Linked DNA regions of Homo sapiens: region 1 is linked to region 2. Evidence: promoter capture Hi-C in human tissues and cell types (Jung and others, 2019). All regions are on one chromosome and are shown on one strand. Each heading gives the region's core, a stretch centred on a gene start or on the middle of the fragment in contact. The rest is flanking DNA. Distances are from core to core; before and after follow the strand shown.

The links. The method cuts DNA at HindIII sites, captures the fragments that hold promoters and counts their contacts. A contact is called where the count stands out against the background at its distance.
Region 1: a fragment that was not itself captured here is called in contact with the fragment with the promoter of STC1 in region 2 in 1 of the 25 tissues and cell types used here (H1 embryonic stem cells).

Annotation. Positions count from the first base shown.
Region 1 is chr8:23,908,249-23,912,870 of GRCh38, forward strand. No RefSeq gene overlaps it. Among named protein-coding and RNA genes, the nearest start is that of STC1, 56 kb to the left of the region's middle. The HindIII fragment of the contact is 5,108 bases long and covers 1-4,593 here.
Region 2 is chr8:23,853,392-23,858,146 of GRCh38, forward strand. STC1 (stanniocalcin 1) reads right to left here and starts at 1,415. Exons shown (of 4, transcript NM_003155.3): 1 at 1,015-1,415. The coding sequence starts at 1,132. The HindIII fragment of the contact is 6,962 bases long and covers 1-4,755 here.

The DNA.
Region 1 (4,622 bases), core at 790-3,289, 55 kb after region 2:
TTGGACACTCAAATAACTTTCATAGACAAAGACAGCATGATATTTGCCCAAGTCCCTCTTGGTGTCCTATGTAGAGTCCAAATCCTTCAGCAATGCATTTGGAGGTCTGCCAGAATCACCATATGTCTGTCTTAAAAATGTCTCATCTTATTCAACAGGAAACCAGTTTAACACTGGGCCCTGGGCTGAAGGGGTCTTATAATAACATTATACTTTATCAGGAGGAGAAGCAGAGAGGCTTTTGCTCACAGCATGAGGGTTCAGGCTGAAAATCTCCTGGGGCATCACTTTTAGCATCTTCTTCCTCCACAAAGGCAACATTTCTCAGAGATTGTCAGGAATGAAGCATGGGGAAATAACTTATCCCAGGCCTCCTTGTGCAGAGGCTGGAGAAGAGGGATTGATAGTGACAAGGATTCTCATCTCCATTCTAGATGAGGGGTGGGGTAAGTGTTCTATAGCTCGACTCCCCACCCACTTTTTTGTCAGTTCTCTGACTTCTTCAATGCCCTGGAAGGTGGGAGTGGGATTCAAGGACAAAGGGCAGTGGGAGTAAGGGGGAGAAGAACTAAGATCTGTCGAGTGCTTCCTATGTGCTGGGTAACATCCATGCTTTGTGGTAACCTGACAATCACCCTGTAGGTTAATCTCTGTACTCTACGGGATAGCAACTGAGTCTCCATCACACTGAATGACTTGCCCAAAGTTAAGCAGAGAGTGAGGGGTGGAGCCAGTATCTGAACCTAGGCTTGCCAGCCTTGTCCAGTAAGTCACACCGATGCCCTTCACTAGTGTCCCCAATAAAGGATCCTTATAGGAGTGAAAAATGGGTTGGGAGGAAATAGAACAATGCCCAACACTCAGAGCAGAGGCAATAAAAGTTACCCTCACTCCTTTCCTCTCCATTCTCTCTTTCCGTTATCACAGGATTAGAGGTGGTGAGTGGGTGGCAGCAGGTGGTGCTTCTGTGGAAAGAAGTAAAGCGATACCAAATCGAGGCCAGCCAGAGGAGGACACTCTTTTGAGAATCTGGGGAGCATGTCAAAAGGCACAATGATCATTTTCTCTCTCTTCTTTCTCTTTTTGGTGGTAAGACTTCCTTAAGTCTTCCTTAAGGACAAGATGCATTTAGCTTCAAAGATACTGTTGACTGTTGATAGCTACAAGTAGCAGCTCTCAAAGTTTTTGGTGTAGGTCCTTTCACGCCATAAAAATTATTAAGGAATCTTAAGTGGTATTTAAAATGTGTATCATATTTATTGGTGTTTACTAAGGCAGATATTAAAATAGATAAAAATTCAAATACTTATTAGTTTCCTTAATAGTAACAACAATATACTGTTGTATGTTAAATTACATATTTTAATTAAAAAGAACTGTATTTTTCAGAACAAGATATTTATTGGGTAGAGTTGCATTGTTTTATTCTTGCAAATCTCTTTTATGTGTGTGTCTTAACAGAAGACAATAGCGTTTTTATATTTGCTCATACATTCAGTCTGTTGGAATGTACTATTTTGGTTAAAGTATATTTGGCAGAAACTTTATACAGATATGTAGTTGGAAAAGGGAGTATTTTAATTGCCTTTTCAGATAACATTACTGTTCTTTGATATGTCAAAGCTCAACAAGTGGAGATTTTTAAAAGGTTGGTGCAATGCAGAATATGAAACCATATCAATGAACTTTATGTGCTCTGTGAAATTGAGATATATTGGTCTATCTTCCACTTTGAATATATCTTCATTCATGCATGATTTTATAATTTTCCTGCATTGGTGATTTGGAAGATATTAGCTCATCGAGTCATGCGAATCTTCCAAATGTTAATTGGTTTTATTTTTAAAAGTCACATTCATTAATTGCTAACCTCATCAGAAAAGTCACTAAGTATTGGAAAGCTATCAAGCTCATAACAGTGGATACAAGTTTTCTAATATTCTTGTTTCTTTTGAAAGCTCAAACTTTATCATTGGCAACAAATGCTGATTGTTTCTCTTTAAGTGACAGATTCACTTTGTTCATTTTCAAGAAAATGTCTGCTAAATGCACGAATCTAAATAACCATAGTATTATGACTAGTCATTCTTCCAAGTAAAAAATGTTGCTGCATTAAAAAATCGGGTAGTTTAGCTCATAGTTTAATCACATCAGTGCTTTTTCTTGAGACAATCATTGGATGTAGGTGTGTAGCAGAAAAGCTTTATTCCTATTTCCCACTTAGTTACACCGAATATTAAAAAGACATGTACTCAAAGATTAAAATATAATAACATTACTACTTTTTCCTGCTTTATGAAGGACATTCTCAAGATAAATTGGCATTTTTCCTCCGTGCTAGTATGTGGTGTTGAAGAATATGGCCACTGGTAGAGTTTGATGTCACTTCCTTGATTTATGCTAAGTGAACAGCAATTTTATCTACCATTCCTGTGCCACTATCAGTGCAAATGTCAACATTGTTGGTCCAGGATAAAACATGAGATTTTTAAAAGTTATTAAGCACTTTGAATATGTCAGTACCACTGTGTTTGTTGCCAGGCACTTACATAAAACATCTTCTTTGATCATTAGTTGTTGCTGATACCAGACAAATTCAAGCAAAACAACAAGTTTAGCCATATCTATAGGCTCACTGAATTGTAAACAAAAGTGCAGTTGTGCAGAGGAGATACTAACTCAGTTTTTCTGTTTACAGACACATTTTTAATTCATCAAGTTACGTGTTTTTTGAAAGTGGCAGTGTCATGATTTTGTTAACAGACTTTTCGTCTAGTAGGCAGTTGGCAGATGTCAAATGTGGATGCTTTAGTAACATCTCAGTTATTATATCCACTTCTCAGCCAATGCTTTAGCTGCTGAATATCAAAATGATACCACACCTTAACTGACACCAAAATACCATTCAACAATATTCTGTTACATAAGACACACCTGGTAAATTATTATCTATAAAACCAAGGAAAAGATAACTTTTGCTTATTTTTATTTCTTATTTACAGTTTTGCCCAGTTTGGGGCAGTTTCTTCCCTTTCATGAGTCAAAGGACTCTGATATGTCAATATTATCTTTATTAGCATTTTAGAGCTAGATAATGCAGCTGTGAGTTGAAAAAGTAAGTCTCTAATTTCTCCCTTTAAGCCAACAATGTAGCCTAAAAAATGCAAGAAAAGCATATTTTAAATGCATTTTTATTTATTTTAGAATAAAATTCTATTAAGTCCTAAAATAATGTTTTAGATAAAATAGAAAAGTCTTAAAAATTGAAAAATAATTTTGCAAAAGAATACAGAAAGTATATTCACCTTTTTCTTGTGCTTCTGCATAGGTATGAGGAAAACTTGGGGATTTTAAAGTAACAGCTTATTGGACAGAAGGAGATAACACATATCAGATTATAGATGGTATAAATGGAAGTAGCTGGCAAAATCTCAGTAGAAATCCCGAGAACAAACTGAGCTAACCTCTGGAAGCATATGTGTTTATATCCTAAACCTACAACCTTACAAAGTTCTGGAAAACCCAGAACACAGAAACACATATTTCATTAACCATCAGAACAATGGAATTATTAGACATCATGTGGCTTCAGGAAAATACCTTATACACATGTGAAAGAAAAAGAGTGAAGAGGGCAAATGACATTTGTATTAGTCCGTTCTCGCACTGCTATAAAGAAATACCTGAGACTCGGTAATTTATAAAGAAAAGAGGTTTAATCGGCTCATGGTTCTGCAGGCTGTACAGGAAACATGGCAGCTTCTGGGAAGGGCTCACAAAATTCACAATCATGGTGGAAGGTGAAGGGGAAGTAGGCATGTCTTTCACAGCCGGATCAGGAGGAAGAGAGATGTGGAGATGTGCTAAACCATTCATGAGAAATCTACCACCATAATCCAACCACCTCCCATCAGGCCCCACATCCAACATTAGGAATTACAATTCGACATGAGATTTAAGTGGGGACATAGATCCAAAGAGTATCAATGTCTTAGTAATATGGCAAAAATTATCTTGGCATCATGGACTCTAAAAGAACTACTGATTCTTTGAGAGCTGCTGGATAAGGGGGGACTGAACAAGGTTCAGAGCAAAGAAAGAAAAAGGTAATCATTTAGGACCTGTTTTTGATTTTTAAGGGAAAGGGATAAAGGGGACATGAAGGTTCCACAATGTCAGGCCTACCTTATCTGAGAAGGCAGGCAGAGAGGAACTTGAGAACAGTGGCCCTACTGAGGAACAGAGGCTACAGATAGCTTGAACATATTTTGTGTGTGTGTGTGTGTGTGTGTGTGTGCGTGTGTGTGTGTGATTCTAAGTTGACTCTACATAGCAGAGGATTGCTGGCCTAGGTACCAGTCTCATGGAGAGCTGGGAAGACCTAATAGTCATCAATCGATAGAAGGCCTTTTAAAGGTGAAAGAGGAAAAGGAACAGAAAGACATGTATATTAAGAGATTGCGTTTTTTCACACTGAATGTAATGTTTCTATTCTTGTTTTTTTTTAAATCATACGGAAAAAAGTAAATATTTATTTCTTTACCACTGTTCTTCCATTGTAGTTCCTTGTTTTCATCCCCCACCCCATGTCCATTTCTTTGCCTAGAATTTTCCTGTCAAAT
Region 2 (4,755 bases), core at 165-2,664:
GTTTTAATATGCATTAGGGCTGCTATTGTTTTAGGCAAGCTCGAATTGTGAATCACTGCATCTCTATAGCAACTAAGTACAAAAGGAAGTGAAGCAAAAGCCCTCCTCTCGGCAGGGACCTGTGCTCTTCCAAGGGGATCATCATCTGCAGCATTTTGACACCTGTGATCCGGTCTTTGCTGACAGTTGGAGGACAGAGGGCAGTATTGGAAGGGGAACAAGTGGAGCCAGAGAAGTCAAGAGGCAGAGGTGTCAATGCAGGCTTCCTAATGATTCTTTTCCTTCAGAAGCCAAGATAATGCACAATTAACTGCTCCAAGAGTCAAGACGAAAGTGAGACCTTACCCTTGGAGAAACAGCTGCTACGTTTCACAATTTTTTTTTTCTAGGGGCTCTCTGGCTACGGGCTGCAGGGACGACTGAATGGAGCCCTACAGAGCCAGGAGGGAGACAGGCAGCAGGGTTGGGGGTGGGATGTATAGGGTTTTCTCTGAATCCGCCCTGGATTTGTCAGACTTGAGGGCTATGGTTCTGAAAATCAGTCTGAAGAGGGAGCTTTTCTGTGTATTCTCTTAGGTAGAGAAGTCAAGAAGTGAAGAGGTAGAGTCTTAAGAGGAAAGGAAGAGGGACAGCATCAAACAAGCCAGGTCTTACCTTAGATCAGCTTCTGGAAAGTATAGAGAGCGCTTTGAAGCATGCCAACATTCAAGCCTTTCCTCCCCTCTCACCCCTCCCCCTCCAAGAGGGTACGTGCCAGATTTCAGGCAATCAGGCTAGGCTTATGCAATGAAATACCCTCAGCAGAGCGTCCAGCTTCTTCGTTTAGTTGCATGCAATTTATTAAACAAAGGAGCTCCACTGCCTAAGGCTATTGGATTACACTGGCAGTTTATTGCCATCAGGCATGAAGCACATTTATTATCAAGATCAGCCGTCACAGACACAGTTGCAAAAGGGAGAGGCAAATGAGGACAGCTCTTTGGGGGAGAAACCGCTCTTGGGTTTGCTGCTTACCTGAGTTTTGAGCCGCCACTCGGGATTTCCTGGGGCTCACAGAGTCATTCTGCTCCGCCTCATGGGTTGCAGAAGCACTGATCACCAGCACCAGAAGCACTGCTGAGTTTTGGAGCATTCTCTGAGAAGTTTCCGCTAAGTTGTTGGGTTTTTTTTTTTTCCTGCCCCCCTTTCCTCTTTCCCTCTCCTGGCTTGAGTGAAGATGTGGATCTGGATACACTGAAAGCTTAGGTGAGGATTTGATGAGGATTTTTTTTTGTTGTTGTTGCTGGTGATGCTGCTGCTGCCACCGGTGCCTCCGCTGCTGCTGCTGCTGCCGCCGCTGCTGCTGCTGCTGCCACCGCCGCTGCTGCTGCTGCTGCTGCAGTCGCTGCTTCTTGCACCTCTGGCTTTTGCAAACTGGGGGCCCAAGAGCTGCACCCAGGGATTTTATAGCCGTTCTTATCGGTCCTCAGGATCAAGGACCAATCAGGTCCCTCAACTGGTCTGGTGAGCCAATAAGAGGGCATGCAATTCAGCTGGAGCTTTTTGACTTCTTAGAAATATTTTCCAGCAAATTAAAAGTACCTGCTGCCAATGTTTTATATGTGTGTGTGACTGTGTGTGCAGAGATGTGTGAAAAAGCTATTTTCGTGGAAGTAAGAGATAACTCTGTATTGATTGAACTAAAGAAAAATCCTATAGAAATCTCTCCAAGTTGCTTTTTGAAATCTAGCCATCTTTTTTTCTAATGAGCCACTTGGGGGAAATGGATAGCAGGGGTATGGTGGGGAAATGTGATCTCTTTAGATGAGAACTTAACCTGCTTACAGCAGTTTTACTCTAATTTTAACAGCACATTCTCGGTTCTGTTTTGTAGGCTACAAATGCAATAACTCCCTATCTTCTCTGTGTGTACATGTTCACATGTCTATGATGCATTTTTGTTTGTATGTGGACATCCTGGGTTCTCACTCACACATTTGAGCCCTTGAGGGGGAATTTATGTGAGTGGAAAAGCCTTGGGGGACTGAGATATGACAGCTCAGAGCTGAAGCCTTAGTCCCCCTACTGATCAACCTATGACTCTGGCTAAGTCTTTTTACCTTGCCCCACCTCGTTTTCCCATCTGTAAAACGCCAAAGTTGGACTCTGACATTCTGTATACCTCTAAAATAATGTGATTCTTCAATAATCAAATCAACTTTGACTTCATCTTTTCAGTCACCAGCAAAATTGCATAGTCCAGGAGTGTTAGTTACCCCAGGTACACATGTGCACACCTGCACATACCACACTCAACAGGGAGACATCATGAATGCCTGAAAATTAATAATCTGTGTTCAAGCCCAGCAACTTTATAACCACTTTGAAACAATAAGCTGGCCAAAGCAAGACTAAACCTGCTGAATGGAAACCAGTTCATTTCTTGGGGAGAGGGGTAGGAAAAAAGGGGGCAGAATGGAAAGAAGGGGTAGAGAAAGACCAGAATGTGTAGGAGAGAAGAATGATAAGCTCTAGACTTAATAGGAAAATTGCACTGCAATCACAAATCATGCCTGGTATAGAAACTTATATTTTCTTATAAGTGAGTTGTAGGCAATGCTGAGGTTTGTCCCCAACATGTGAAGGAGGTTAATGAGCCAGAAGAGGACTTCTTAGGGTAGGAAGGTGGTGAAGGTATTATACAATAAAACCTTTAATAATTTTGGGGAAGTAGATGAGAAATGGCCACTGGTGATTCATACAGATTTGGGCAGGATAATCTTGCAGAGAAATGGGGCCAGTGGCTTTACTTTGCATCCTAAAACCTTCAAACAAAAGTTGAAGAAAGAGTGCCACCCCTGTTAACCACAAACTAAACCAAGTGTCAGCTCTGTGTATGTTGTGGGGTGATAGGGTGGTGGGGGGCGGGGGGGGGGGGGCGGCGGACGGTTCTGGGTGATGATAGCCTATCCCTCACAAAATAGGGTTGTTTGGTAAGTATGAAAGTTTGCTAGAAAAAGGAATAGAAGGAATAAAGGATACAGGAAATATCTAAAAGAAAGGAAGGGAATTTTCAGATTTACATTATATAACAAGAATACATTTTAATTTATATTAACAGGCAGTATTGGTATTTCTTTAGAACCTTCTGGGCTGAGTGCTAGGGGACAATGTGGGAGGATAAATGAGAAGACATAGAGAAGAAGGTAAGTTCATTATTCTTGTCCTGAAGGTACTTACAGGTGAGTTGGGAAGATGACCAGCCACAGTCATACTTCCTAAAGGTTCGGGATGTCAGGACCTCATATAGTAAGACACAGGCTCAGGCAGCACTGGCTGGAGATGGGGGGAAAGCTCTTGAGGGAAAGATCAGTGGGGAAAGATGTAAACTGCTGTTGTTGCTTTTTAAGAATTTAGGAAAAGCTATGCTATTTCATTTTTAAAAAACAAAGCTTGTATTGTGGAAAGCTTCAAGGTTATTTGTATTGCTTTAGTTAGAAGTAGTAGATGCCAGGCAAGGCAATAGAATTTCTCAGTGCTCTCTTCCAGAAAGGGAGTAAGAGGACAGATGCGTATTCCTCCCAAGGGTCTTGACTTCTGTTCTTTAGCATTCTCTACCTCCTTGGCCATTATTCATCATCTAAGGCAGTGCCATTTGTTTCTCTTGGGCTTTCCCTGAGTTGGTCTGCTTGGCTTGGTAGGGTGATGATTTACCACCAGCCATCTACTTTGTTTTTCCAACTCTCCGTTGCTCTCACCAGAACACGATGTCCTACAAGCATCAAGATGTGTTTGTGTTTTTTTTTTCTGATGTTGATTTATTATTCCTTCTTATTTTGCTCACTTACTATCTTGTGCCTGGAAGTTCATTGCTAGGTGTGCCAAGTGTTTCCCAATAACAGGTAAACTGTCCTTTGAAGAAATACAATAGTGGTCAGCCCATTGATTTGAATGTAACTAGTATGCATGCCAATGCATTTGAGAACCTTAGGGGAAGGAGCTGAAGTCTACATGAAATGCCCAGTGTAAAATTTCTGCCTAGAATGTCATGGTATGTGGATATCCAAGTGCCCTCAATCATTGTGCAACTGTCTGGAACTGTGATATAGCAAGATAAAAGGGTCTTGGGGGCCCTGGTGGTGATGTCTGGTTTCTTTGTAACTTCTCTTGGGGGTCTGAGAGAATATGGAGGAGTTTGCTTAGCGCTCTTCACAGTCTGAGTTTTATCCTGTAAGGAACAGGAAGTTATTCGGGCTCTTGAGTAGGAATTGTTAAATGATGGGTGGAAATAAGTGTTTAGGCAAGATTATTTCATCATACTTATGATGGTTTGGAGGAAGAAAAGAACAGAAGTTTTAAGACTTGTTAATAACAGAATTTTGTTGATGAGATTCTGGCCTACAATGGTTGTGGCAGGAAAGGAAGGGAGACAAATATGAGAGATGTTTTAAATGAACTGGAAATTATTAATTAACCTAAGGATTGTCTTGGGAAAAACCTTTCTCCCAGTTTAGTGGTAATGGAGATAATACACATGAGGACTTTTCCCTCCTTATATTTTAGTTATGACTTTTAGTTGACAGGACTATCTAGTGTCTCTGTTAGGCAGGTGCTTTCTGGCATACTGTTGAGCAGCAGAATTACCTAAAAAAAGGACTTGACTGCAATGTGCGCCCAAGTGCGCCCAAGTGCAGTGGGTGGGAGGGGAGGGTATACTTTGCCATTGCCCTGAGCAGGGAAAGTGCTAAGAAGTTGGTGGGAGAAGCTGCCAACACC